Linked DNA regions of Homo sapiens: regions 1, 3, 4, 5 and 6 are each linked to region 2. The links are contacts of gene promoters, found by promoter capture Hi-C in blood cells and fetal thymus (Javierre and others, 2016). All regions are on one chromosome and are shown on one strand. Each heading gives the region's core, a stretch centred on a gene start or on the middle of the fragment in contact. The rest is flanking DNA. Distances are from core to core; before and after follow the strand shown. Region 1 has its middle 30 kb from the start of LINC02272. Region 2 holds the start of PDGFC (platelet derived growth factor C). Region 3 has its middle 73 kb from the start of LINC02272. Region 4 has its middle 150 kb from the start of LINC02272. Region 5 has its middle 55 kb from the start of LINC02272. Region 6 has its middle 98 kb from the start of LINC02272.

Region 1 (4,572 bases), core at 987-3,486, 360 kb before region 2:
GGAAAAGAAACTTTGGGGCAAGAGAAGAAATGCTTATAGGTGATTTGAGGGAAAGATAGTCCAGTAGGCAGTGTGAAATATCTCTTTTCCTCTCTGTGAAACATTTAGTAAACTGTACATTCTTCTTTAAAACATTTGGAGTTAAATTTGACTTAGAGAGAAAGTGAGATACTAAGACCTGCTTAGAGCAGCTCACAACTACTGAACTCAGGTTAAAATAAACTAAGAACCTCCCTTTCATTAGTGAGAGATGATTAAATAAACAAGATGCCTAGTAAGTTCAAGTGGGAAAGAAAAATAAATCAAAGGTATCCTTTGAAAAATAAAGTGCATGCATTGGTCATGACAATGTAATCAGGAGCATTTTAGTAGCCAAAGGAAGGAGGTAAATTAATTTGTACTTTCAAAAGGAGTTATGAGGAATGGCATATTTTAGAGAACAAGCTGCTACCATTTTAAAAGGGCAGGTCATCTGTATAACTCATCCAGTTTTTTAATGGGATTACCTCAGAAAAATAAAAGGAAGATGGCAAATACTCTCTGGATAACATAGAGACAGTAATATGAATTATAAATCGTTTCTTCATATATTTATTCACAATAAGATCCTATAATTGCTAATGGACTCAAGAGAACATCTAGTTTATTTCTTACTGTCTTGGATAAGAATATCCAATTAACTCTGGTAGTTATCTTTTAAAACCCCACATATCTCTGAAAGGTCATTTTACTATTCTCTATTAGCAAATTTCAGTACCAAGTATATCTGACAAAATACTCAAAATAATTTTTTTATCATCTTTCCCCTTCATAATTGAATATCCTACTAGGCAAGACCTGAAATTGATCCTAGAACTGATAACTTTCCCAGAAGAGCCTACTGGTGCTTCTTTGCTATTTGCGATGCTGTACATCTCTCCTTGAACTTAAATATCTCCTTCATTTTAACACTCCTCCTACCTAATTTCTAGTTAATTTCATTTTCTCTGCTCATCAGCAGCTTTCATTCTGCCATTGACACTTATATATACATATATATTTTTAGATTTGTTATTGCTGGGTCTTCATACCAATAGCCAAATGGAGCATTGTGGAATGACTTGAGGATCAATTTCAGCTGCATATAATTTATACATTATATTATTATAGTTATAGTTATAATAATATACTTTCTGGTTCCTATATACTTTAGAGTTAAAGCATAGAAAAATTAGACTAATGCTATTATTTGGTGTCTCTAGCAGTGCTGCTATAGTTTTTATGCAGCAAGCCTAAAAACATAAGCCAGTGGTTGTTCACAATATTTAGAACTATCAAATGTTAGAAAGGGTTCCAGAAACTGAAAGTCTGAAATAGAAGGTTCTATGTGTCTTATATAGAACAATCTTAAAAAAGCAAGTTCGTGAGTGGAAAAGTGACTTCAGAAATGCTTGATTGAGATTCTTAATTATAGCTCCACTATGCAACTTAACATGCCCAAATTTCAACCTGTTTTAAAGAGAACTCCCATTTTAAGATGAAATTTTCCTCTTAAATTCGTAGCTACTCTCAGTGGACTACAAATTCCTGAAGCTTAAAACTTCAGAGCTGACTTTGATTTATTTTAATCTTCTGTGCCTTGTAATCAATATAACATTAATTCTTGATAATTCATATTTTGATATATATTTTAGGTGCTTACTTCTCCTCCTACTGCCACCCAACCCTTACCAAGTCATTCATTAGCATTTTTCCATTAATTCATTTTGCTGTCTCCATTCTTATCCTCTTTATGATCATTTCGTTTGGACCCTTTCTTGGGTTTAAGCTTCCTAAGACATTCTTTCATTAGGCTAATCTGCTGGAAAGTTGGAGTAACTTTTGATTTTTTCATTCCCCTCTTTCTTGACAAATCCAGTTAGTTGTTAAGCTCCATCAATTGTAATTTATACATGAACACCTTTTACCAAGTCATTAGGTTTCGATTTCACACCACACAGCACTCTCAGATCAGTCTTTTCAACTACAGTTATAATAATGTAATTTTTCAGCTAATGAACATTTAGTGTATCCCAACATCTGATGTATACAGTGCTTATGCAAAGGAGATGAGGGTCTGAACTTATCTTTTAGTGTATACCTTTCACTGCTCCCCATGTAGACTGGAAACTCTACTCAAAACTCTTATTTTTTTCCAACTTTTTCATCTCAGCACTTTTTGCTTGGCTATTTTTTTCTCCTGGAATGAGCTTCCTTCTAATCTGGGATCTACTTTATTTTTTAATGTCTAGAAAATGTCACCCTTCGTAAAGTGTCTTACTGTCATCTTTAAAACTTTTTTTCTGAAGTTCCATAAACTTTATTTTTACCATGATATTTTATCTTCTATTATAAATATTTGTGATTAAGTTTTATCTTCCTTATAAGCTCTTAGTTGTTAAGGTTTCTGTATATTTTAATCTGCCCTCTTTTCATAACGCTTATCATAACACCTTAAACATTACAGATACAAGATATGACTTTTTGAATGAATATTTCATAATGCTTCTCCACTGCCAATAAAGTTATTTCGTTATTTGTAATCTCAAGTCACCTCCTCAACTTTACCTTTTACTCTTCTAGAGAGGTCTTTGCTACAATTAATAAGGTCTACTTGTTCCCTGTGTTCTCCACTCTTAGTCTTACCTAAAGCTTTGCATGAAACATATGTAAAGCACTAGCTTTACATCCTATCTTGTCTCTAGAAGCATTTAATAAGTGGTGGTTAAGAGGAGGATTCCTGGCAGTAAGAAACCTGATAGGGTCAATCTCAAGCCTGCTGCCTGGGAACTGGCTAACAAGTAGGTAATCTCCCCAAATCTTATCATCTCCTTTGTTAAAAGGGGAAATTAATAGTATCCACATTATAAAGGAAAATCATGTAGCACAGTGGTTGGCACATAAAAATAGTAGATACATGTTAACTATTCTCCTGATTCTTCTCTTCCTCCTCATCTCCTTTTTTACTCTTAAAGAGAAAGAATTGAAAAAATATTGATTAGTACTATCTTCCAAGCACTATTTTATCACTAAGCCTACAAACATAAATAAGTTCTAGTTCCTGCCCTCATTCCCACTTTTCTTTTTTAAAAGTTTTATTTTGTTTTTATTGGCACACAATAATTGTAGATATTTATGGGGTACAGTGTGATGTTTCAATAAATGATAACATTGTATAATGATCAAATCAGGATAATTAGCATATCTATCACCTCAAATATTTATTATTTCTTTGGGGTAAGAGCATTCAAAATCCTCTCTTTCAGGAATTTTGAAGTATACAATACATTATTGTTAACTACAGTCACTCTATTTTGCAATAGAACAACAGAACTCATTCCTTCTGTCTAATTGCAACTTTGTACCCATTAACCAAACTCTTCCACTACCCCCACAACACAGCCTCTGGTAACCATTTTTCTATTCTATGATACCCACTTCTATGATATCCACTTTGAAAAATTCTTTTTCTACCTCTATGATATCCACTTTGAAAAATTCCATGTATGAATGAAATCATCACACATTGAGGCCTGTCGTGGGGTGGGGGGAGGGGGGAGGGATAGCATTAGGAGATATACCTAATGTAAATGATGAGTTAATGGGTACAGCACACCAACATGGCACATGTATACATATGTAACAAACATGTATGTTGTGCACATGTACCCTAGAACTTAAAGTATAATAAAGAAACAAACCAAATAAAACTATCAAATTTCAGATAATTATAGAAATAGTTAGAGAGAATAATAGAGTTAAATATATGTAGGAAAAAGTTTTTCTTGAATAACTTTTTGAATTAGGCAAATCCAATTATTGAGCCATCATTAAATGGCCTCAAAAAGCTTTAAGATGTTGTCTAGTCTTGTCCTAACCTCTAAAAGAAACCATTTGCAAACTTATGAAGGCTAATGTTGTCCAACAAAATGACTTGTTCATAGAAATTATAAAAAACCATTTTCCCAGTGACATTATGACATAAATAGTAAACAAAGTAAAATAGGTAGCAGAGAAAGTAGATATACCATCTATGTTCAGAAAATTAATAAATATATTTCTCTTCTGTAGACATTCTCTCACATTATAATCAGTTGTCTAGTGGCCTTACAATCACATGTCATGTACAAAGACATCTCCTATGGACCGAATGTTTGTGTTCACGGAAATTCATTAATGAAAATTCAAACACCCAAAGTGATGGTCTTAGGAGGTGGGGCCTTTGAGAGATGATCAGGTCATGAGTGTGGAGTCTTCATGAGCAAGATTAGTGCCGTTATAAAAGATGTGAAAAGAGCTCTCTTGTTTTTCCATCATGTGAGGACACAGTAAGATTGCTGTGTGTGAAGCAGGAGGCGGGTCCTCAGCAGACACCAAATCTGCCAGCACCTTGATCTTGAACTTTCCAGCCTCCAGAACTGTGAGAAATAAATTGTTATTGTTTAAGCCACCCAGGCAATTGTATATTCTCTTATAGCAGCCTGAACTGATGAAGACAGCATGTAGACAAGGTTACCCATGTTTTCCTCCTTAACAAGGATTCTAAAATTAAGC
Region 2 (4,127 bases), core at 981-3,480:
CACTTCATAGAGTTTAAATTCAAAGTTGAAGTCTTGAAACACCCCAATATGAAAAGGAAAAAAAATCACTCTGACTTAAAACTATAGCACATCCTATCTTAATTTTGTAGGTATGCCACTTGTGTTCATTTTGCATGGTTAATCAAGTGACAGAATCCTTGCATTCTGAATAGATGATATACAAAGCAGTAAAAACATGTATATTCCTTTTCAAATTACAGTAAGAGCCACCATTTGTAAACAGGGCGTTAAATATTCCAATTTTAGACAGCCTAACATGAACATTGTGGTTTCATGTGCAGTATAAAATTTCTATTTACAAAGTATTCTCAAAAATGACTTCATAATGGTAGATGAAGAGAAAAAGAGTTTAGAAATTGAATGATGTAAATCATATGGGTTCAGAGGCTAAGCAAATTACACACCCTGAAGCTGCCCTGGCTTTATGAAAGGAGCCTTTCTCCAGCTCTGTGCAATCCCAGCCCAAGGGAACTTGCATCTGAGAGTTTTCTAAACATTTCAGGTACACTTGAAAGCTGAAAGTAATTCTCATTTCCTATGCAGGATTAAGTCGTTTCCAGCACACACAAAATAGCAGTCATTCACCAACACATACAAAAACACACCACCAGAAAGGTAAGGACTTCAGAGTACAAAGGCAAGTTTAAAAAACAAAAACTAGGGAGCAAGAGAAATACACTTTTTAATTCCTCTAAAAACGACCACACAGCCTCTTGACCTCTATATTTCCTATCTACTCATTGATTAATTGATGACTTCGACCTAGAGTGCTTCAATTAATGCGGCTGATATATTTCCTGACCGACCCCCCTCGCCCTCCCCAAATCTGAGTAAAGTCAAACATGCCAAGGCTCATTCATTTTGGATTCGTTTTTAGAGGCAGTTCTTGAACTTCTAACTTTAGCAATGAGCGAACCTGCAATGTGCATTTGAAATGACGTTCACAATCGCTCCCAGAATGTCCTCACTCAGCAGTGGCACTCACGTTGCCCTCTTGGAGCTTTGTGGCAGCTCCCGAAGTTGCAAACTACACTTAACCTTTAACAGTCCATGCCAATGAACGCAGCGCACATTTGCATGTAATGAGAGACCAAAGATACCTTCACAGTCTGGTATATATCACATACCAACGCACAATGCCAACGTTAACACACACAGCGAGAAACAAGCAGGGGGAGAATGGGGGAAAGACTCACCGTTCTGTTCCTTGTTGCTGGAAAACTGGAATTTACTACTCAGGTTGGATTCCGCCTGAGTCCCCTGTCTCTGGCCGGCCAGGGCAGATGTCAGCAGGAGAAGCCCGAAGAGGCTCATTTGGCTGACTGGGGTGAGAGCTCACTCACGGCGGGCACTTTGGAAGCAGCGACTCCCGAGTCTCTTTCACCACCGCCAGGGGAAGGCTGCACTGGGGTGGAAGCGCCGAGCCTGCTCTGGCAGCAGAGAATCGCAGGGTAGTTTCCACATAATCCCATCCAAAACTTTTTCCTAGAGCCCTCTTCTGTGTCTCCAGTTTTTGAAAAGGATCAAAGCAAAACCTGGACCTGAACCAGTTTCCCAAGGTTTAAACAAATCCTGAGCTGTGGCGAAGTGGTGGGGGTGGGGGTGAAGGCGAGGGAGGAATGAGGGGGTGGGGACGCGGGGGAGCGGCGAGAAGTCCCCAGCAAGTTGCTGGGAGCACCTGTCAGTTCGGGGGACAGGACAGAGGCGAAAACTCAAGGGTTGCCCGCAGCCAGACTGGAAGCCAAGTCGGCGGCGAGCAGTTTCTGATCAATAACAAAGCTGCCAATAGATGCGGCTCTCCGGGCGCCCCTCTCCCCCGCCCCACCCCCCACCCCCGAAGGGGGAGGGGGAAGAAACAAGGCGAGGGCGCCGCGGCGGGTCCCACGGGCCGGGGCGCCGGAGCGGGGCCGGGGGGCTCCGGGCCGACGGCGGCCCGGGCGCAGGCGGAGAGAGGCCGCGGGGCTCCCGCTCCTCAGCCCGGAGCGCAGTTGGCCCCGGGTTCGGAGCGCCGCAGCACGGATTCCGGCACCTGGCTTGAGTTTTCCGCGACCAAAGTTCACCTTGTTCGGGCTCGTCCCCCGCTCCTCAAAGCCTGGGGCAATTCGGCCGCTCGGGGTCACCGCGGGGCTCCGGTTGTTCCCCGTCCCCTCCCCCCACGCCTCGGGCTCCGCGCTAACCTCGGGGCTACGCGCGGCGTCTCCGCACGGGGTGAAGAGGGAAGGCCGGGGCGGCCGGGAGGATCCGGCTTGTCCCCTCCCCTTCTCTACCTTCCCCCCGCCGGGCGGCAGACAGGAGGTGGGGGCCGTGGGCCGAGCCCGGGCGGAGCGCGCGCCTGGCGAGCGGGGGCGGCTCAGCGGCTCTCCCGCAGGCGGCCGATGGGGCGGGCGGGGGTCAGCGCCTCTGGGAGGGGCAGCCCTGGGACGCGTCCGCGCGAGCGGGCTTGGCCGCCCACTGGCTGTCAACAGGTGCTGCGCAGACAGGGGGTGCTGCGGGACTCGCTGTGGGCAAGACCCCGGTGGCCCAGGAGAGGAACGCGGCCAAGGCGGCCCCTGCTTTCCCTTCCACGGAACACCTCTAACCCCAAATACAGAGCACGATGGGTGGTGAAGGGTGCTGCAGAAGTAAGTGGGAAAGAACTTCCTGCAGCTCTCCTTCTCCCGCCCCCTGTCGCCTGACTTGTCATTAGTTTCCAGGAGGGCTCCCCACTCCCTAAGGTCTTTGCTAGGACCCTTGGCCAGAGTTTCAGAACAGAAGGAAGAAGGGAAATGAATTCAAAGGCTTTCCTCCAATTTCCAGCTCCGTAAAGCAGGACAAATAAAGCAAAAGTAAAGGCAGCCAAAATAACATCCATTTAACAAGTACTATATTTACTGAATGCCTACTATGTCGGGCACTGTTTAGAGGTTGGAGCCGTAGCAGTGAAAACAGACAAAAGTCCCTGCCCTCGTGAAGCATACGTAGTAGTTGGGCAGCATTAAGCTAATAGCAAGCTCTTCTGAGAATGGTGTCTAAGGGACTCAGAATGATCCTGCAACCTTGGACTTTCCTACAATACAGCCTCTAACAAAACTAGGCTGCCCTGAACCCCTGGTGATAGAATTGTTTACATTTACACCAAAAAGGTCGAGAAAGAACTGAAATCTCTTGTGGCTTGTGTTCAGGCTGACTTGGAGAGAGAGGCCGATGCTTTAAGACCTAAAGTTCTCATGAGGTAGTCTGAAATGAAACACACATGCCAAGCAGGGCTTATGGTGGTTCCATGTCTGCTAAATATGTCTGTGACAGGATCCAACGTGCTTTCTTTGTGGAGAAGCAGAAAATCATTGTCAATGTGTTAAAGGCACAAGCAGAGAGTCAGAAAAGTTGAATTTTAAAATGAAGCTATTTTTGAGTAATAATCAAAATGAAAACAAGGAAGTGCCATGGCAGGCAAATCAGCAATATCACCCAACTTCTTGTGGAAAAAAAGTCAATGCAAACAATTCGACCATCAAGAACACTTGGGCTGGAACAGAAAACCAAAATAGCAATGTCCCTGAAACTAAGGAGTGGCATTTGGGCAAGAACATATTCTTACTGGACCAAACCAGGGGCTGATCCTTCTTCAGTGGTGAGGAAAATGCCAAGCCCTCTTCTTATATGCGAACACCAACTGGGGCCAACCAACCAGACCTTTCTGCTTGGAATATCCTAGTCTTCTTGTTTTTCCCTTTTAGAAACCTTTGAAAACTTCACCCATCTGTCTCATTCTTGAAAATTTCACCCGCCTGTCTCATTCATTCATTCTTATCCCTTTACCACTTCTATCTACAGAGTACTAAATATACACTAAAGGCAAATAAGGCCTGATCTTTGACTTTAAGGCATTTACAGTTTAGTGGACAGAAGGTTTTTTATCAAGTATGGTATTTTATTCGAGTTAGCAGCTCCACAACACCAGTGTGACTCCATATTTGCATAATGTGTTCCAAAAATATTTTGTAAATTTGTGAGGGTGAAGGGTTATTCCCAATTTTAATAACATAATGGGACTTAAATAAAGGGCATGCCTTATGAATCCATTGTAATCTATTTTTCATAAAATTCATTATTCTCCAGTTTTTCTA
Region 3 (4,623 bases), core at 194-2,693, 400 kb before region 2:
AATAGAAGCATATAAACTATTCAGATAATATAAATCCTCAGAGTAGATTCAGGGACTGAACAGTGAGTTTTCCTGCATCAATTAATACAGCTAGTTAATTGACAGCTTTTCCAGGTGTTCTTTGTTTTACAAGCAAAGGCTGAAAAAATACAGGAAGCACATACGAAAGTCCAAGCCTCACAATTTAGAGACAAGCCCTGAACTTTCATCTCTAGTTCTTACATGTGAAATTTACCAAATACTGTAATCAATGTGTTTTACATGTGAGTAAATTATCTCCTAAGATATTCAATTTATACATTGAAGATCAATTTATTCAGCTATCCAATATTTTAACCATTAATTTTAAGCATGAAAAATGCATAGGGAGTATATGCTTTGACAATACAAAAAGCAGTAATACAAAAAAAATTGCTTACTCAAAAGATTTCTCAGGAATCAAAGTAAAATAAACTCTAAAAATTCTTCAAATTTTCAAAATTGGAGAGGTAGCTTTGCTTTATATATTTAAAGGCCTACCAAAATCGTTATTTGAAAATATGATTTTTTTGGGCCAGGCACGGTGGCCCACGCCTGTAATCTCAGCACTTTGGGAGGCCGAGGTGGGCGGATCACCTGAGGTTGGGACTTTGAGACCAGCCTGTTTATTTAAATTATTCAGATGTATACTTTTTACTTCTAATTTTTAACTGAGACAAATTGAGACTCTTTGATACTTTGTATTAAAATAATAGTATAAACTTAATGTTAAATTTCTTACAAATGTGCATTTTATTTAATGTTTGGAATATGTTTATTTTCTATTTAAATATATGTACATTTAGTTTCACTGTAATATTCGATGTCATTCATTCTAAGCCGTTTTTAAAATAATCATTCTAGTATTTTCTAATTGTGTGAAATTAATATCAAAATTGCTCTCTGGTTTATTTTGCATCAGCGTTGCCATCATTTGGCTCGACTTCCCAGGCACTTCCTCATCTGCTACCTTTTCTACCTGAGGCTCTTTCTCCCTCATTTCCAACTTGCACCATTTCTTAATCATCTCAGTTATCGTTCTTGTTTCTGGAGTTCCTTGCTTATTGCCTTCTCCTTTATCTTCTAAAACCTTATCTACCTCTTCTAGTTCTGATGGATTGCCCTCTTCTCTGATGTTCAAAATTAAGTTTAAATTCTACTCTTCAGCACGTGGAAAGCAAGACCCCTGAGGGCGCAGGTTTTAGTCAACTTTCATTCAGTGCCGCTTCTACAGAGTTGAACACTTTCCGGTACATTAAATGCTCTCGGTAAGTATTTCTTGAAGAAATAAATGGAACTGACAATAAGTTCTCCTGCTAATGTGATAAGTATTTCAAGCTTCTTTCGTTTACTTCTCCAAATATGTCACAAATTCCTCTGAATGCATGCCAACAGTTAACAAGTTTGGATCTGCAAGCCTGGCTCTTTTTCCTCTAAGCTCTAGTCCTGCAAATTGAGCAAACTACCTTCAATGAATGGAATACTCTGAGTCAAGGCACCCTGATGACAAGTTAAGCTTCACATAAGTATGAATAAATTGAGAGAGTAGCACTCTACTTATGCTTAATATCCTCTAAAGCAATGTTGTAAATATTAGTGATATGTACATTAAAATATTAATACAAATATGATCTGGAGAATATATTTTAAGAAATTTATTTGCCTACATAAACTTTGTAATAAGTCTCAAAAGCTTTTACACAATATGTAACTTAAACTAGATGTTAACAAAGTATTATACTTTTGCACCTATAACTAGGTTCCAAGCCCTATTTACATGAATGCTTCTTAGAAACAGTAACCCTTTGACTTTCAGCTCTGATTTTAAGCCCTTCTATTCTGTGCTGTATCCTGTAGCTGCAGAGAGGCCAAGCATACATTACCAGCCGGCTTTTGTCTTCTCTTCTCTTCAGTCATCAGAAGCGTTTAATTACCAGCTTTCTCTAATTATTCCACTTCATTGTACTTGCCCTGCTAATTCCTTGCACCTTGAATCTTCACATCTTCACACTGGAGGGTTTTTCTTCTCAAATTATGATTTTATTTTCTCAAAATACAAAATAAGTGCATGCTCTGTTATTTGTTTTAATTTGACCTCCTTTTAGGAAAAAGTGGAAAAAGATGAAAAAACAGCAATTTCAAAAGTGATTTTCCTACATGTAGAAAATTATCAAGTGGATTTCCTTTAAATCCTAAAAAAATCTTTTTAATAGACAAATTTTATTCCTCTACATGCAACATCATATTCCAACACTTTCTTTCTTGTCTCTGAAGCTTAGACCTATAAAAAATTTTACTTTGAAAATAATTACATAAAATATTAAAGATTACTTACAGGCTAACCTAAGTACCTCAACAACTTTTATTTTTTATCTTGTTTTTTCCTCCCAGCTTTGTTAAAGAAGCCAAAACAAAACAAAACAAACAAACAAACAAACAAACAAAACTAATGTGTTTGGAACCAGGACTTCATTTGCTACTCTGCTGTATCACAATTTTACTATTACATTGTGTCCTTACTTTGCACTATTGGACAATATGCCATCAAAAATAACTGATTTATTGATTGAATATCTAAGAAGCATAAAGATGATATAAATTTTTATATAGAATGACCTATCATAATATCCTTTTTCCATTTGGAGTTACAAAACCAAGTATATGATTTCTTTTGAGGATTTGAAGTACTTTTATCCCATATGCATAATATATAAAAGTTAATTTTGCAAATTTTTGCTTCATAATAATTAGTCATTATGTATCTAAATGATAGCTAGAAATATGTAGAACTTTTAGTGATGATGATTATTTTTTACTTCTCTCTCCCTTCTTCTCTCTCTCTCTCTAACTCTCTGTCTCTGTCATCAAAGCCAAAGTATATCAGTTTTGACATGGCAGCTGTCCGGAGGGATTTGCTCCCAATCATTTTGATCTAACGTTCTTTGTCTATGTGATGACAAAGCAATAGCATGTTTTTCATCAAAGGCAGGAAATGCATTATTCTTTCTTTGATCTCTAAAAAGGATTTTGGGGTAGAAAGGTGAGAAGACAGACCTTAAAACATTTCTTAATGCTCTTATCTAAAACTACACCACTTTAATGAGAAAAGTTAAATGTTTCTGAAAGCACAATTCCAAAACGAATAGGTCCTGATTTTTAAATTAATTTTTAAATCTTTAAATTAAAAAAAAACACAATTTCTCCCCTTTTAGATGGGTATGTATCTCTACACCCCAAACTGGGGATCCTTTACTCACTTTGACATCTGATACTGTATTTTCAGCTTGAAAATAAATGAGATCCTTGAAACTCACTACTATCTCTTAAAAGGTGATACCTTATGTGTCCTTTTCTTCTGTCTTTCCTCTCACTTAGTTTGAAGCCCTGGTTGAACTAGGGATTGTCTGTTCCATTGCCTTCTTGTCTGTTCCATGTCACCTTCAGTTTTCACCATTGCACTCATTTCTTCAGTTAGCTGACTTGAGTTTAGACCACATTTTGCCTTGTACCCAATTAATTTCTTTTTCTTTTTCTTTTTCTTGCCGTGTGTATATGTGGGTGAATGTGTGAGCTTGTGTCTGTGGGTATATCCCTTACCTGGTGAATTCTCACTCTACTTCTCAACTCAGTTTTAAACACTTAAGGTTAGGTGCAACTTTTACTCTATATGTCAAGGAGAAGTTTTGAAAACCACAAAAAAGTTTTAATTCTATAATTCGTTTAATATTTATGTTGTGCAATACACTACAGAAGCCATTATGAAATGGATCATGTATTTCTGGGCAAAACAGTTCCTTCAGGAAAACATGACTTACAAGATGAAACTATAATGCCAGGCAATGGATAGAAAGCATCATATGTGTTCTATAAAGTACCAAGGGGGGTTAGATGAGGAGTAAATATTTTTTTAAATCTTTAAGATAACAAGTAGATCAACAGGTAAGAGAAATATGATGAACAACCTGAAGAGAAGTGAGAGTTTTAAAAATAGGGAGTATTTTTAAATAGCTAAATATATTGCATCTATATGTATAGTATAGCTAATGAGTTAAGTTGAGCAGGTCATGATGTTCCTTGATTGCCAAGCAAAGACTTATAAAGTTGATTAGGCTAGCAAAAGGGAGCTTTATGGTGATGAAAATTGTCACTTATTCAGTTTAGCACTTTGAGGCTTTTGATTTCAGAGTATAAGCGTATGAAGAGCAAAAATATTAGAGGCTAAGAAACCAGATACAAGTGTTACTGGCAGTGAATCCATATGGATCTGCAGCAACCTCAATTCTTGTATCCTCAGAAGAATTCAACCAAGGAGAATAAGGCAGAGAGAGAGAGAGAGAGAGAGAGACCAAGGCAAGTTTTAGAGGAGGAGTGAAAGTTTATTAAAAAGTTTTAGATAGAGCAGGAATGAAATGAAGTAAGTACATTTGGAAGAAAGCCAAGCCAGCGACTTGAGAGATCAAGTGCACTTTTTGACTTTGACTTGGGGTTGTATACGTCAGCATGCTTCCGGGGGGTTGAGTCCCTTTGCCCTGATTCTTCCCTTGGGATCAGTTCTCTGAATGTGCAGTGGCCTGCCAGCACTTGGGAAGGGCTGCATGCACAGCG
Region 4 (4,654 bases), core at 1,232-3,731, 480 kb before region 2:
GGGCACCATCTAATCAGCTGCCAGTATGGCAAGAATATAAAGCAGGAAGAAAAATATGAAGAGATGGAACTGGCCTAGCTGCCCAGCTTACATCTTTCTCCCATGCTGGATGCTTCCTTCCCTTAAACATCGGACTCCAAGTTCTTCAGTTTGGGAACTCAGACAGGCTCTCTTTGCTCCTCAGCTTGCAGACATCTATTGTGGGACCTTGTGACAATGTAAGTTAACACTTAATTTTATATATATGATATATTATATATATCATATATTATATATTTTATATATGTATATAATATATACATATATATCCTATTAGTTCTGCACCTTGAGAGAACCCTAATACAGGTTTTGGTACCAGGAGTGGTTGTAGAGGAACAGAATATTAAGGTTGGAGTTCTTTCCTTGGTTTTGGGGTTTCTGGAGTTCGCTGCTTAATATGATTAGACCCAAAAATGCTAAGGACTCTACTTCTAATAGTATGGAGAATTCTGATAGTCCTTGGCATTAACCGTTTAGAGAGTTATGCAAAATAAATGCATTTGACATTCCTAATTCACTGCTCATGAGAGGCAAGAAGTTTAGTGACTCTATATATAATACCTTTGACCATATGTGGAGAACCAAGGAACATAAAGAAGCTGGTTGGTTGCTCCTACGTTCAGTGGACAAAGTGATGAAAGAAAATGATAAACTCGGTGCTTCTATCTCCCGGCTTCAGAAGCAGATACTGAGCCTTAAATCTGCTAAGATTGCCCTGAGTGAGAGTCTTATCTCCTGTAGAGAAAGAGTCAATATTGTGAAAAAACAGACACAAGCTCTTATCATGCCAGTGGCTGACCTGCAATGAAAGGTGCATGCACAGCCTTGCCAGCTGTCTACTGTTAAAGTGAGGGCATTGATTGGAAAATAATGAGACCCTGCAACTGGGAATGGGGATGTGTGGAAGGACCTTGATGAAGCTGGGGACACTGAGTTTGTAAACTCCGATGAACCTTTTTCCCAGAAGAAACAGCTTCCCATCCCCAGTAATGGCTACATCCCCTCGCAATCCATGCTGCCATCAGCTTTTCCACCTTTGTCTGAGATGATAAATCCTGCGCTGCCTGAGGCAACAGTGATGGCCTCCCCTGAGGCAGGTGCCTGGCAAGATAATGTTGATTCTCCTCAGAAGCCACCCACAACAACCCTGTTTGCTTCTAGACCTATAACTGGACTAAAGTCCCAGCGGGCCCCTAAAGGTGAGGTTAAGAGTGTGACCTAAGAGGAGGAAAGGAATTGCTTGAGCTTTCTAAGTTATATAAACAGAAATCTGGAGAAAAGGCATGGGAATAGATATTAAGGGTGTGGGATGATGGTGGAAGGAACATAGAGTTGGATCAGGCTGAATTTATTGATTTTTACCCACTAAGTAGGGATACTGCATTTAATGTTGCACCTCAGGGAGTTAAAAAAGGTTTTAATAGTTTATGTGCTTGGTTAGCTGAAATATGGATTAAAAGATGACCTACTGAGTGGGATAGAAATGCCTGATCTCCCTTGGTTTAATGTAGAGGAAGGGATCAAAATGCTTAGGGAGATTGGGATGGTGGAGTGGATTAGTCACTTTAGATCTATTCACCCCATCTGGGAAGATACAGAAGATATACCTTTTTCCAATGTCTTGTGAAATAGATTTGTGAGGGCAGCACCTGCATCTTTGAAGAGCCCTGTAATTGGTCTTCTCTGTATGTCAGATCTAACAGTGGGAATTGCAGTCACTCAACTACAAAATTTAAATACAATGGAAATAATTGGATCCCAAGGTGGCAGGGGCCAAGTGGTGGCACTCAACCATCACAGGCAAGGTGAGCATAGCTACCATACTGGACAGCAGAAGCAAAGCAGCAATCAGAATAGTCTGACTGGTGTGGAGCTCCGGCATTGGCTAATTAGTCACGGTGCTCCTAGATGTGAAATTGATAGGAAGCCTACTGCATTCCTACTTAATTTATATAAGCAGAAAACTTCTAGATCAAATAGACAAAAGACTCATTTGAATTATAAAAGCAGAGAATCACAGCCCCTCAGTCAATTTCCAGATTTAAGCCAGTTTATAGACCCAGCACCCCTTGAATGAATGGGAGGCTGGGTCCCCTTGAGGAAGCACCCTACTACACTACTGACAATTTATGCTGTTAACCTTTCTCCCATCCTTCCCCAAGGAGACCTCTGGCCTTTTACCAAGGTAACTGTGCATTGGGGAAAGGGAAATAATCAGATGCTTCGGGGACTACTTGACACTGGCTCTGAGTTAATGTGGATTCCAGGGGACCTAAAACGTCATTATGGTCCTCCAGTTAAAGTAGGGGCTTATGGAGGTCAGATAATTAATGGAGTTTTAGCTCAAGTCCAACTTACAGTGGGTCCATTGGGTCCCCAGACTCATCCTGTGGTCATTTCTCCAGTGCCAGAATGCATAATTGGCATAGATATACTTAGCAGCTGGCAGAACCCCCACATTGGCATCCTGACTGGTAGGATGAGGATTATTATGGTGGGAAAGGCCAAATGGAAGCCATTAGAGGTGCCTCTACCTAGAAAAATGTAAGTCAAAAACAATATCACAACCCTGTAGGTATTGCGGAGATAAGTACCACCATCAAGGACTTGAAAGACGCAGGGGTGGTGATTCCACACCACACCTGTGTTCAACTCTCCCATTTGGCCTGTGCAGAAGACAGATGGATCTTGGAAAATGACAGTGGATTATCGTAAGTTTAACCAAGTGGTGACTCCAATTGTAGCTGCTGTACCAGATGTGGTTTCATTGCTTGAGCAAATTAACACATCTCCTGGTACCTGGTATGCAGTCACTGACTTGGCAAATGCCTTTTCCTCCATTCCTTATGTGACATAAGATTTATTGACTTCACATCAGCATTTAAGTATCGTTAACTTTATGTAATAGTATTTGGGTTGGGGATTGGTGCATTTCTGGTTGTAGGAAGGATAGTTGTATTATGTTAGGTGTAATTATAAACCTTATTATTGTCTTTATTTGAAGATTATGTATGATCTCAGGAAATGTATATGGATTCAAGTTGATGAAAGGTGGACTCATGATGGTTAATACTGAGTGTCAACTTGATTGAACTGAAGAATGCAAAGTATTGATCCTGGGTGTGTCTGTGAGGGTGTTGCCAAAGAAGATTAACATTTGAGTCAGTTGACTGGGAAAGCCAGACCCACCCTTAATCTGGATGGTTACCATCTAATCAGCTACCAGTGAATATAAAGCGGGCATAAAAACATGAAGTGACGAGATGGGCCTAGCCTCCCAGCCTACATCTTTCTCTCATGCTGGATGCTTCCTGCTCTCGAACAGCAGACTGCAAGTTCTTCAGTTTTGGGACCCAGACTGGCTCTCCTTGCTCCTCAGCTTGCACACAGCCTATTGTGGGACCTTGTGATCATGTGAGTTAATACTTAGTAAACTATTAAGTTTCTTACTTCTGTCCCTCTAGATAATCCTAATACACAGTGGTTTACCTTTTCTTGAGTTACACTATTCCAAATTCTTTACTTTTCTCTCTACTATTAATGTGCTGGATCTTTTATTTTTATTTCAATTTTTTTTTTGTTTTGTTTTTGGAAATGAAGGAGCTTCATTCAAAAGAGTAAATAAATCATTTTAAAAATCCATTATTAGAATCTGTTACTGTGTGATAGGAATTGAAATCAAATTGTATAGCTTAGTTATTAAGATATCTCACTAACCAAATTTCATATTTTAATTTTCTTTATTTAATACATATATAACTTTTGAAAGGTAAGTTTTATTGTATTATTATTATTTATTATACATTCTTTTTAGAAATATAGTTCTCTAGGCAAAATATTTCTAAGGAGTATATTGTAATATTCTTTTGGACTAGAGAAAGCATCTATTCCCAAACCAGACTCTGGTTTAGTCTCTCCTTTACTCCCGTCCATGTCCTGTGTGCCCTTGGGAAAGTCACTTAAGGATTCTGTACTTCTATTTCCTCATCTGTAAAATCAGAATAATTTAAAAATCACCAACATCACAGAGTTATTATAAAGACCAATTGAGTTGTATGTACAGAAAACAATAAGCACTCAACAAATTCTAGTGGTTATATTTTTTTTTAGTTTCCACAAAACATAGAAAAACCAAACTCAGTATATTGTATTGGAAAGATGTTAATGACACATTACATTTGATTTATGTTTTTGCTTGTAACAAATAGATGGGCTTTTATGTTTTGATATATTTGATATATATATGTTTGATATATTTAATATATGAAAACATAAAATAATTTTATGTTTGAAGGATGGCAAGTGGCTCAGAAAGGCTATGAAGTTTGCATCTTAGGAGAATGGCGGAAATCAACAGATGAGGGAGATTTGAATGTGATATCCTAAGAAGTTTGGAATTTTGAACTCAAAAAGAGAGTCACACTTACAGACTAAGAAAAAAAAAGGATTATATGATTAAATTTACACTTGAAAAATCAGACGATTGGCAATGGAGGCACTGTAATATAGAATAATGATATCTGTGTAGCAAGCATAATAACAGGAATCTGAGAATAGTGTCTTAAATGTTAAACAACACTAAAGTAAATCATTCTAGGAAATATCTCTCTTTAGT
Region 5 (4,358 bases), core at 1,655-4,154, 380 kb before region 2:
TATCTTCTCAAAGCATGTTCCTCAGTTGAAAAATAGCTACGATATTCCATTGCCTCTATATTGAGGCAATATTTATAGAATTTCAAGAGATAAACTAAGAACCTATTTTATAATTTACATAAGGAGTAATAATAATAAAACAGACACTTTTGAACCAACCATCAACTTCAGAAATTGAACATTTCCAAAGCCTGTAAATTTTTTTGGGCCCTTCAATAATTACAGATCTTTTCCCCCTGTAAAATGGTAACCATGACTATGAATTTTTTTGTTGATAAGTTTTTGCATTTTGTTATTTTCTTGCTAAATATATGTACCTATAAACTATATATAAATATATATATATATATATATATTTTTTTTTTTTTTTTTTTTTTTTGAGGCCTCGCTCTGTTGGCCAGGCTGGAGTGCAGTGGCACAATCTCGGTTCACTGCAAGCTCCACCTCCCGGGTTCATGCCATTCTCCTGCCTCAGCCTCCCGAGTAGCTGGGACTACAGGTGCCCGTCACCATGCCTGGCTAATTTTTTGTATTTTTAGTAGACACATGGTTTCACCATGTTAGCCAGGATAGTCTCGATCTCCTGACATTGTGATCTGCCTGCCTTGGACTCCCAAAGTGTTGGTATTACAGGTGTTAGCCACTGCACCCGGCCTAAACAATATATTTTTAAAAGTTTTGGATATATGGGGAATTTATATATTATTAATTTATATATTATATTATATTATTATATTATAATACTGGTATTATACCAAATATATCCCTCTGCAGCTTGTTTTAATCACCCTACATTGTCTTTGAGATTTACTTTTGCTGATGTAACACTATAATAATAGTAGTAATAATAATAATAATAATAATTCTATCTCTTGTGTATAGATATTCAAGTTTTGCTCAGTTTGGGGCCTTTATAAACTGTGTTAAAGAATTTTGTATATGCTTCCAGGTCCACACCTATAAGAGTTTCTCTATGGATATACCTAGGAGTGGAACTGCTGGGCCATTGAGAATGCTCATTTTTGGCTTTGCAAGATACAAGTTAGTTTTTCAAAGTAGGCACATAAGAAAACATTCCCAACAGACTCTGGTGGAAAAAAAATATATATATACACATATATTTGCTTAAAAAATGAATTATTTGTATTCAAAAGGAGAAGAAACTTTCTTCTGGCATTTTTGGAGGTAATCCTTGATTAATTTTTAAAATTTCTTTTATGACATTACTTAATTATACGTTTTGTTTGTTTTTACTTCTTGAGAAAATTTTAGGTGTATATAGTGACAAGGAAAACCATCAATTTTATCTAATTAGAACTCTTTAGAATAGAGATGAAATCAAATTCTTTTGTACTAATCTAATAATCCTGATTATTTGTAATAAAGCTGTGCTTACAGCACAATGAATCATGTATAAGTGGCAAGTAATGATGGGCGGGAGAAGGCAGAGGATTCACTCCTCTCTTCTCACTCCATACTCTATAAGCAGGCAATCTAGAGTTTTTAACTCCAACCACGGCCCTTATAGATGAGTTCATATACTGCCTAGTAGACATCCGCACATGGAGGACATGAAGGCATCTGAAGATCAAAATAAACGAAAGTGCCTTTACCATCTTTCCTCCAATTTTAGGCCTTCTTTGTCCCCTCTCTCTCCCAGCTTACTAAACCTAAAACCTGGGAGCCACCCTTGACTTCTCCTTCCATATTGTAAAGCCAATCAATTGCAAAATCCTCTTGATTTTGTCTAAATGCAGCCCACTTTCTCCATCTCCACTGACATGACATTAATGATCTCCAACACTTGCCAGGCACTGTGGAAGTAAGTGCTTTATATAGATTATTTTTCTGAATACTTATACCAACATCATCAGGGGGTTATAATGGCTGTCCCGAGGATGTATATTGGAGGATATATATTGGAAAACAGGGTGAGGAAAGATAAACAATCACACAACTAACAGATAACAGGGCTGATTATGAAATCTCACTCCAAATGTTTTAACTACCTTGTGACAAAATACCTCAAACTCTTACCTTGTTACTAGTTCCTTGCTCTACTTCTGTCTCCCTCCAAATTTTTCTCTGGCCTTGAACCAGAAGATTTTTTAAAGTGTAAAATCTTATCTTTTTAATTCTTTAATTATTTTAATTCTCTTTAATTCTTATCTTTAATTCTTGGACACAGGGGTGTCCCATCTTTTGGCTTCCCTGGGCTGCGTTGGAAGAAGAATTGTCTTGGGCCGCACATGAAATATACTAACACTGATAATAGCTAATGAGCTTTTTAAAAACCACAAAAAAATCTCATAAAGTTTTAAGAGAATTTACAAATTTGTGTTGGGCCACATTCAAAGCCATCCTGTGCCACATTGGCCTATGGGCTACAGGTTGGACAAGCTTGGCTTAAAACCTTTCAATAGCTTCTCATTTGTCTTATTCTCATTTTCTTATTCTGTTTTCTTTTCTAATTCATTTTTCTTATTCTATTCTAAAAATCATTAGCAGAGTCTAAAAGTTGCCACCTATTTCTCTTCTCACTCTGAGTAGATATGCCCCTTTCTGTCACAGATTCTTTGCTTTTCCCCTTTAAATAAAACCTCCTTCCCTAAATAAGAGCAACTAATTATAAATCTTTTTTTTAATTCTTCAAATTTCACTAAAAAATCAGTTCTCCAAGAAAGCCTTTCTAACTCAATAGTCTAGGTCTTCTAATAACATTGACTGTTATGACAGCAAATAGATTTTGCCAGGTTATTAAGATAAGATAGAAGCAAGGAAAAATGACTGAATATTTACAACTCTATTGTCTGGGAGAATTAACTCAAGACCCAGATAATGAAAAACTAGTAAACATTTGTTGAGAGGATACTATGTGTCAGCCATGGTACTGCTTTACATATTTTTGTTATACTTCCTCTTAGAATTATGTATGGGTCCTATATAGCACTTATAAAAATTATCATAAACTAATTAACAGTGAGATTTATTAATATTTGTCTTCATTTTTATACCTTAACTCATTAAGGGCTAAGATAGCTTCAGTTCCTTTTCCAGTACATTTTCAAGAATAATGTGTCAAACTAAAATTTGGTTGCTAAGATATAACTGCCAAGTTAAGACATTACTTATGTGCTCAGGGCAACCAATTTAAATACAGTTTTCTAAATCTTACATGTTATTATCTCAATGAGGTTGAAATATTTATCTTGAACCTTTAAAATTCAAAGTTAATAAGTAGAATATTTAATGCAGAAAGTACAGAATACAAGACCTGAAACTATAAAACTCTTAAAAGAAAATACAGGAAAAAGCTCCTTGACATTGACCTTGGCAATGATTTTTTGGCTATGAAACAAAGCATAAGTAATAAAGGCAAAAATAGACAAGTAGGATTAAATCAAGCTAAAAAGCTTATGCACACCACAGGAAACAGTCAACAAAATCCTAACCTATGATACGGAAGATATTTGCAAACCTTGTATCTGATAACAGGCTAATATCTGAAATATATATAAAAATATCCCTACAACTCAGCGCCAAAAAAAAAAAAAAAAAAAAACACCCTGAATCACCCAATTTTAAAAATGGGCAAAGGATCTGAAGAGACATTTTTCAAGAGACAATAAATTGGACAACAGCTGTAGGAAAATATATTCATTATCACTGATCATAATAGAAATAGAAATTAAAACCACAATGAGATATTAATTCATGCCTGTTAAGATGGCTATTATAAAAAAAGATAAGTGTTAGTGATGGGATAGAGGAAAGCGAACCTTAGGACACTGATAGTGGGAAATTAAATTGGTACAAATATTACGGAACACAGAATTTGGATGCCTCAAAAATTTAAAACTGGAACTACCATATTATCCAGGAATATCACTTCTAGGTATACACCCAAAAGAAATGGGAGAGCTGCATTCCCATGTTTATTATAGCATTATTCACAATGGCCAGGATATGAAAGAAGCCAGTTTCCATAACAAATGAATAGTGTTATTGTTTATATATGGCTTGTTTGTTTTTCTCCACCAAATCTCATGGTGAAATGTGATCCCCAGTGCCATTGTGTTGGGGGCGAGACCTAATAGGAGGTATTTGGATCATGGGGGCAGATTCCTCATGAATATATTAACGACTTCTTTTGAGGATGAAGGAGTTCTTGTTCTATTAGTTCCCATGACAGCTGGTTATTTTTTTAAAAGCCTGGCATCTACCCATCTCTCTCTTGCTTCCTCTCACACCAGGTGATCTCTGCACACGCTGGCTCCATTTTGCCTTCCATCATGAGTAGAAGCAGCCCAAGGCCTTCACCACATTTCCTATCTTGAACCTTCCAGCAAGAAGAATCA
Region 6 (4,383 bases), core at 1,875-4,374, 430 kb before region 2:
GCTCTGCTATGTGTATCATTATTTGATGGACTCAAAATATATCTGATGTATCTGTTAATTTCTTTATTTAACGCTTCATTAGAATTTATTGGTTTAATTTTCTTTGTCATGTTTTCTTTATAATATTCAGATACGGTATTAGTCAAGGTTACCTACAGAGGCAGGACTAATAAGATAGATGTATATATGAAGGCGAGTTTATTTAGGAGGACTGACTTACACGATCACAAGGTGAAATCCCACAATAGGCCGTCTGCAAGCTGAGGCCTAAGGAAGCTAGTCCGAGTCCCAAAACTTCAAAAGTAGGGAAGCCAAAAGTTCAGTCTGTGGCCAAAGGCCCGAGAGCCCCTGGCAAATCACTGGTGTAAGTTCAAGAGTCCAAAAGCTGAAGAACTAGGAGTTCCATGTTCAAGGGCAGGAAGCCTTCAGCATGGGAGAAAGAGGAAAGCCGGAAGACTCAGCCAGTCTGCTCTTTGCATCTTCTGCCTGCTTTATTCTACCTGCGCTGGCAGCTGGTTAGACGGTGCCTACCCAGACTGAGAGTGGGTCTGCCTCTCCCAGTACACTGACTCAAATGTTTATCTCCTTTGACAACACCCTCACAGACACACCCAAGAACAATACTTTGCATCTTCCAATTCAATCAAGTTGACGCTCGATATTAACTGTCACTGGTATGTTGCTTCTCAATAGCTTTAGGTGCTTTACGTTTTGTCACCTCAACAAATGAAAAATTTTTGAAGGCAAGGACCTGTTTTGCCTTTTGTATGTGTAGCTTCACACTGCACTTTGCGTGCACTTCATTTCCACTTGGTAAACACCAGTTATAAAATTATTCAAACAAAAAAAATTGTTTTCAAACTTCCATAATCAAATTTGCATTTATCTTGAACAATTAGGTACATAGTTATTTGTAGAGCTGCATTTTAGGCTATGTACTTCTTAGACTTATTGGAACTGTACTCCCAGACTTGTAGATATTACCTGATGAAAATATTACACTAAGTATTAATATATTCCCATGTTAGACTTGCCTTTTTAATATTCTTTATACCTTTAGATGTCTCTGTTGCACTGAACTAGAGGAGAAAATACTCTAGTAAAATTTTAGCATACGTATGAATTTCCCTTTTAGATATTCATTTATTTAACCATAACTCGCTTGTTCATTTAGTCAACAAACATGAATATCCACTCTGTGCCAAGTACTATTGTAGCGACTAAAGAATGAGATACAGCAATAAACAAAATTATGTTCCTGCTATGCTAATGCTTATGTTCTAGCGAGTATATGGAAAATAATCAAGCAAAGAAAAATACATATCTAAAACATGGGGTTGATAATAACTGCCACACAAAAAAGAAAACAGAGGAAGAGAAGTAAAAATACCAAGGGAAAGCAAGGTATTGCAGTTTCATTAAGGGTGTTCAGTGAAGGCCTTAAATGAGATAGCATTTGTGCAGACATCTAAGGAGGTGAAGGAGTAAGGCATGTGTATATCTGGAAAGGAGTATTTCAAACTGTGAGAACAGAAAAGACTTAAGGGAGGCACATGCTTAGCGTGTGCAAGGAACAGAAAAAAAAAACAACTGAAGGGTAGGGATAAATGGGGTACAGCAATCAAGGGGAGAGTACAGGACAATAAAACCAGAGAAGTACCAGCAGAAGGACCCTAGAGGTCATGGTACAGACTGGGATTTTACTTTGAATGAGACAGAATGTCTTGAAAAATATTGTAGAATACCTCTGCCTTTAGGGTGCCAAAAAGATCATAGGGAGCATGAGTAGAAGCAGAAAAACAGGTTAAAAGATTTCAGTTTAGGTACAGATAACGGTGGCCTAGAATGGGGTTGTTTATGCTAGCTTTTGTGTACACTTCCAAAACCAAACAAGCAAATCATGGAGAGCTGAGAAGAGTGGATGAATTATATATGAGTTGTGACAGAAAGAGAGGAGTCAAGGATGACTCCAAAAGTTTATGGCTTGAGAAAATGGAAAAATGAATTTGCAATATTATGGATGAAATCGAATTGTAGGAAATTTTAAACTTCAGAAATATTAAGTTTGTGAAGGCTATTAAGCATTCAAATGAGAATGTCAAAGAGGGAGTTGGATTCAAGAAGCTTCTTCACTAAACTCCTCTTTTCTTTCCAAAATTAAGCTCATGTATCTTAATGCAAAATTATAATATGTGACTGATGAGACTAAGCTTTGTTCAATGAAAGCCCATATTTCAATAGCTGTTATTAGAATATTATATGTTAAACTGTGTTTATAATTGAAATGTCTTCAGTTTTCCATTTTAGGAAAGGGTTTTCTAACAGAAGTTGGTTGCGTAAGCTTTTGAGGCAAACTCTTTTCTGAAAGCCAAAATATCATCTAAAACCATCTCTATGAACTGGATCTTCATATTAATCCTCTTCACAGATAGAGAATTTACGTTGTGTTACTGAATGCCAGATGTAAGGCTGGCACACTTTCCCTGTCAACAATGATTATTGTCATTTAATTCGGTATTTATTCTGAGACTTGCTCTGTGAGCAGTTCTCACAGGGAAAACTCTTAATGTCACAGACCTACTGCTCTGGTGTTATACACTTCCTGAAAATTCACATAGGTCTGGGCCCTGTGTTTCCTTCCTAATCCCCTTATGCTAGGCTAAGAGAGTATTTTCCAGAAACTGTTTATAAGGTCTGTAACTTCTGTGCCTGTGTTTCTCAAACTTATGTTTCTTGGAGTGCCTTTGTTTTAATTGGAGACCATTTTAGGGCTTGAGCAACTTCTCTTAGAGCTACTTGCTGCTGTGGTTTGTCTTACATTTGTAGGCTTGCTGTCAGCCAAGATGTCAGAACTAGTGGTCCCAAGGCAATATGCTGCTGAAACATTCTCCCACTTTCTTGTTTACAAATCTTCTCCTTCCACTTGACACAGTGCAGTTATGTGTTTCTCATGGTTTTGTTCATGTTTCTTATATGAATGACCTGGTTGGCATAGCTGCTTTCAATAAAATAGAGTAGTCTACATGAGACACCCAACGTCAGACTGGCTTGCTACTTTAATTCCCATTGCAGCCATCAAAATGAAAACATGTCTGTCGGCCAGAGGAAATCAACAAACATACAATAGGAAAGCAAAATATTTTCTCTACTATTTTCTCTTCACTTGGAAATAGAAAAGGAGGTTATAACTTGCTAATCTCTGTGGCTCTGTTGTAACAACTGAATCACTCTCTGGGGAGACACAGACTCCTGTTGGAGAAACACTGTGATAATCAATGGTTTAAATGTCCTTAGCTGACTGAAATGAAGAACAATCAGCCATTCCAACTTTGCTGTTTCCTGAAGGTTCCTTGCTTCTCAATCCTTAATGCTTTTGCAGTTGAAGTTATCCCTAATGGTTCATCCTTCCCTTTCACCTCTCTACTTCCTTCTTTTTGATCAAGCATCAGCTGAATTCTCATCTACTCTGGGACATTTGTCTTACTGCTCTGCTTCAATCTGACATGCTGTGTATTGAATAACCTGACCCTGAGAAAGTCTGCTACACATATGCCTTCATCTACACTTCCTGTGCACAGATTCTTGTCAGTCATGGTCAAATTCTGGACCATGTGGCTATAATATGCTTTTATTTTTTCAACCCAGCCATACAATTAGACCAGGGGTATGCACAAGGCTCAAAGGCAGCCAAAACATCAGTTTTACAAGGATCCTTGATGTTCCAATGAATGTGAAATGTTAAATGGGACTATCAGACTCTTCTCTACAATTTTTAATAAAAGAAATACAGAGAGGTGAGGTGATTGACAAAGCTCACTCAAGAAGTACTTTATGTTATAAAAAAAGACCCAGAAGGGCCTTGATGGACCATGATAAGACAAAGTTTTGAAAAAGCAGAAATAAGAGAAGAAGCTTATTTGCAGATAGAGAAGAGAGTGGACTTGATGTACAGAAAGAACCAAAAACAGTCCAGGTGCAGTGGCTTATGCCTGTACTCCCAGTAATTTGGGAGGCCGAGGCTAGAGGATCACTTGAGTCTAGGACTTCAAGACCAGATGGGCCAACATGGCAAAACCCCATCTCTATGAAAACTGCAAAAATTAGCTCGCTGTGGTGTCGTGTGCCTGTAGTTTTAGCTACTCAGGAGGCTGAGGTGGGAGGATCACCTGAGCCTGGGGAGGTGAAGGCTGCAGTGAACCATGATTTTGTCACTGCACTCCAGCCTGGGTGACAAAGTGAGACTCTGTCTCAAAAATAATAATAATAAAAAAAACTAAACAGAGCTCACTGTGGAGAGATGGAGATAGATGGGGCAGCCAAGTCCAATTCCAATTCCAGGAGATGTGATTGACAGTAAGTGGCAGTTGCTTGAGATAGCTAGGA

The links. The method cuts DNA at HindIII sites, captures the fragments that hold promoters and counts their contacts. A CHiCAGO score of 5 or more calls a contact.
Region 1: a contact is called between a fragment that was not itself captured here and the fragment with the promoter of PDGFC in region 2, in 1 of 17 cell types (M2 macrophages). The highest score is 5.6, in M2 macrophages.
Region 3: a contact is called between a fragment that was not itself captured here and the fragment with the promoter of PDGFC in region 2, in 1 of 17 cell types (megakaryocytes). The highest score is 6.4, in megakaryocytes.
Region 4: a fragment that was not itself captured here is called in contact with the fragment with the promoter of PDGFC in region 2 in 3 of 17 cell types (M1 macrophages, M0 macrophages and M2 macrophages); the score reaches 6.2 in M1 macrophages.
Region 5: a fragment that was not itself captured here is called in contact with the fragment with the promoter of PDGFC in region 2 in 3 of 17 cell types (M0 macrophages, M2 macrophages and megakaryocytes); the score reaches 7.5 in M0 macrophages.
Region 6: a contact is called between a fragment that was not itself captured here and the fragment with the promoter of PDGFC in region 2, in 2 of 17 cell types (M1 macrophages and megakaryocytes). The highest score is 5.3, in M1 macrophages.

What each region holds. Positions count from the first base shown.
Region 1 is chr4:156,610,071-156,614,642 of GRCh38, forward strand. No RefSeq gene overlaps it. Among named protein-coding and RNA genes, the nearest start is that of LINC02272, 30 kb to the right of the region's middle. The HindIII fragment of the contact is 863 bases long and covers 1,806-2,668 here.
Region 2 is chr4:156,969,569-156,973,695 of GRCh38, forward strand. It overlaps PDGFC (platelet derived growth factor C), which reads right to left and starts at 2,231. Exons shown (of 6, transcript NM_016205.3): 1 at 1,218-2,231. The coding sequence starts at 1,335. RefSeq lists an enhancer at 2,018-2,518. The HindIII fragment of the contact is 8,294 bases long and covers 1-4,127 here.
Region 3 is chr4:156,566,812-156,571,434 of GRCh38, forward strand. No RefSeq gene overlaps it. Among named protein-coding and RNA genes, the nearest start is that of LINC02272, 73 kb to the right of the region's middle. The HindIII fragment of the contact is 178 bases long and covers 1,355-1,532 here.
Region 4 is chr4:156,488,798-156,493,451 of GRCh38, forward strand. No RefSeq gene overlaps it. Among named protein-coding and RNA genes, the nearest start is that of LINC02272, 150 kb to the right of the region's middle. The HindIII fragment of the contact is 7,171 bases long and covers 1-4,654 here.
Region 5 is chr4:156,584,979-156,589,336 of GRCh38, forward strand. No RefSeq gene overlaps it. Among named protein-coding and RNA genes, the nearest start is that of LINC02272, 55 kb to the right of the region's middle. The HindIII fragment of the contact is 1,013 bases long and covers 2,399-3,411 here.
Region 6 is chr4:156,542,361-156,546,743 of GRCh38, forward strand. No RefSeq gene overlaps it. Among named protein-coding and RNA genes, the nearest start is that of LINC02272, 98 kb to the right of the region's middle. The HindIII fragment of the contact is 1,571 bases long and covers 2,340-3,910 here.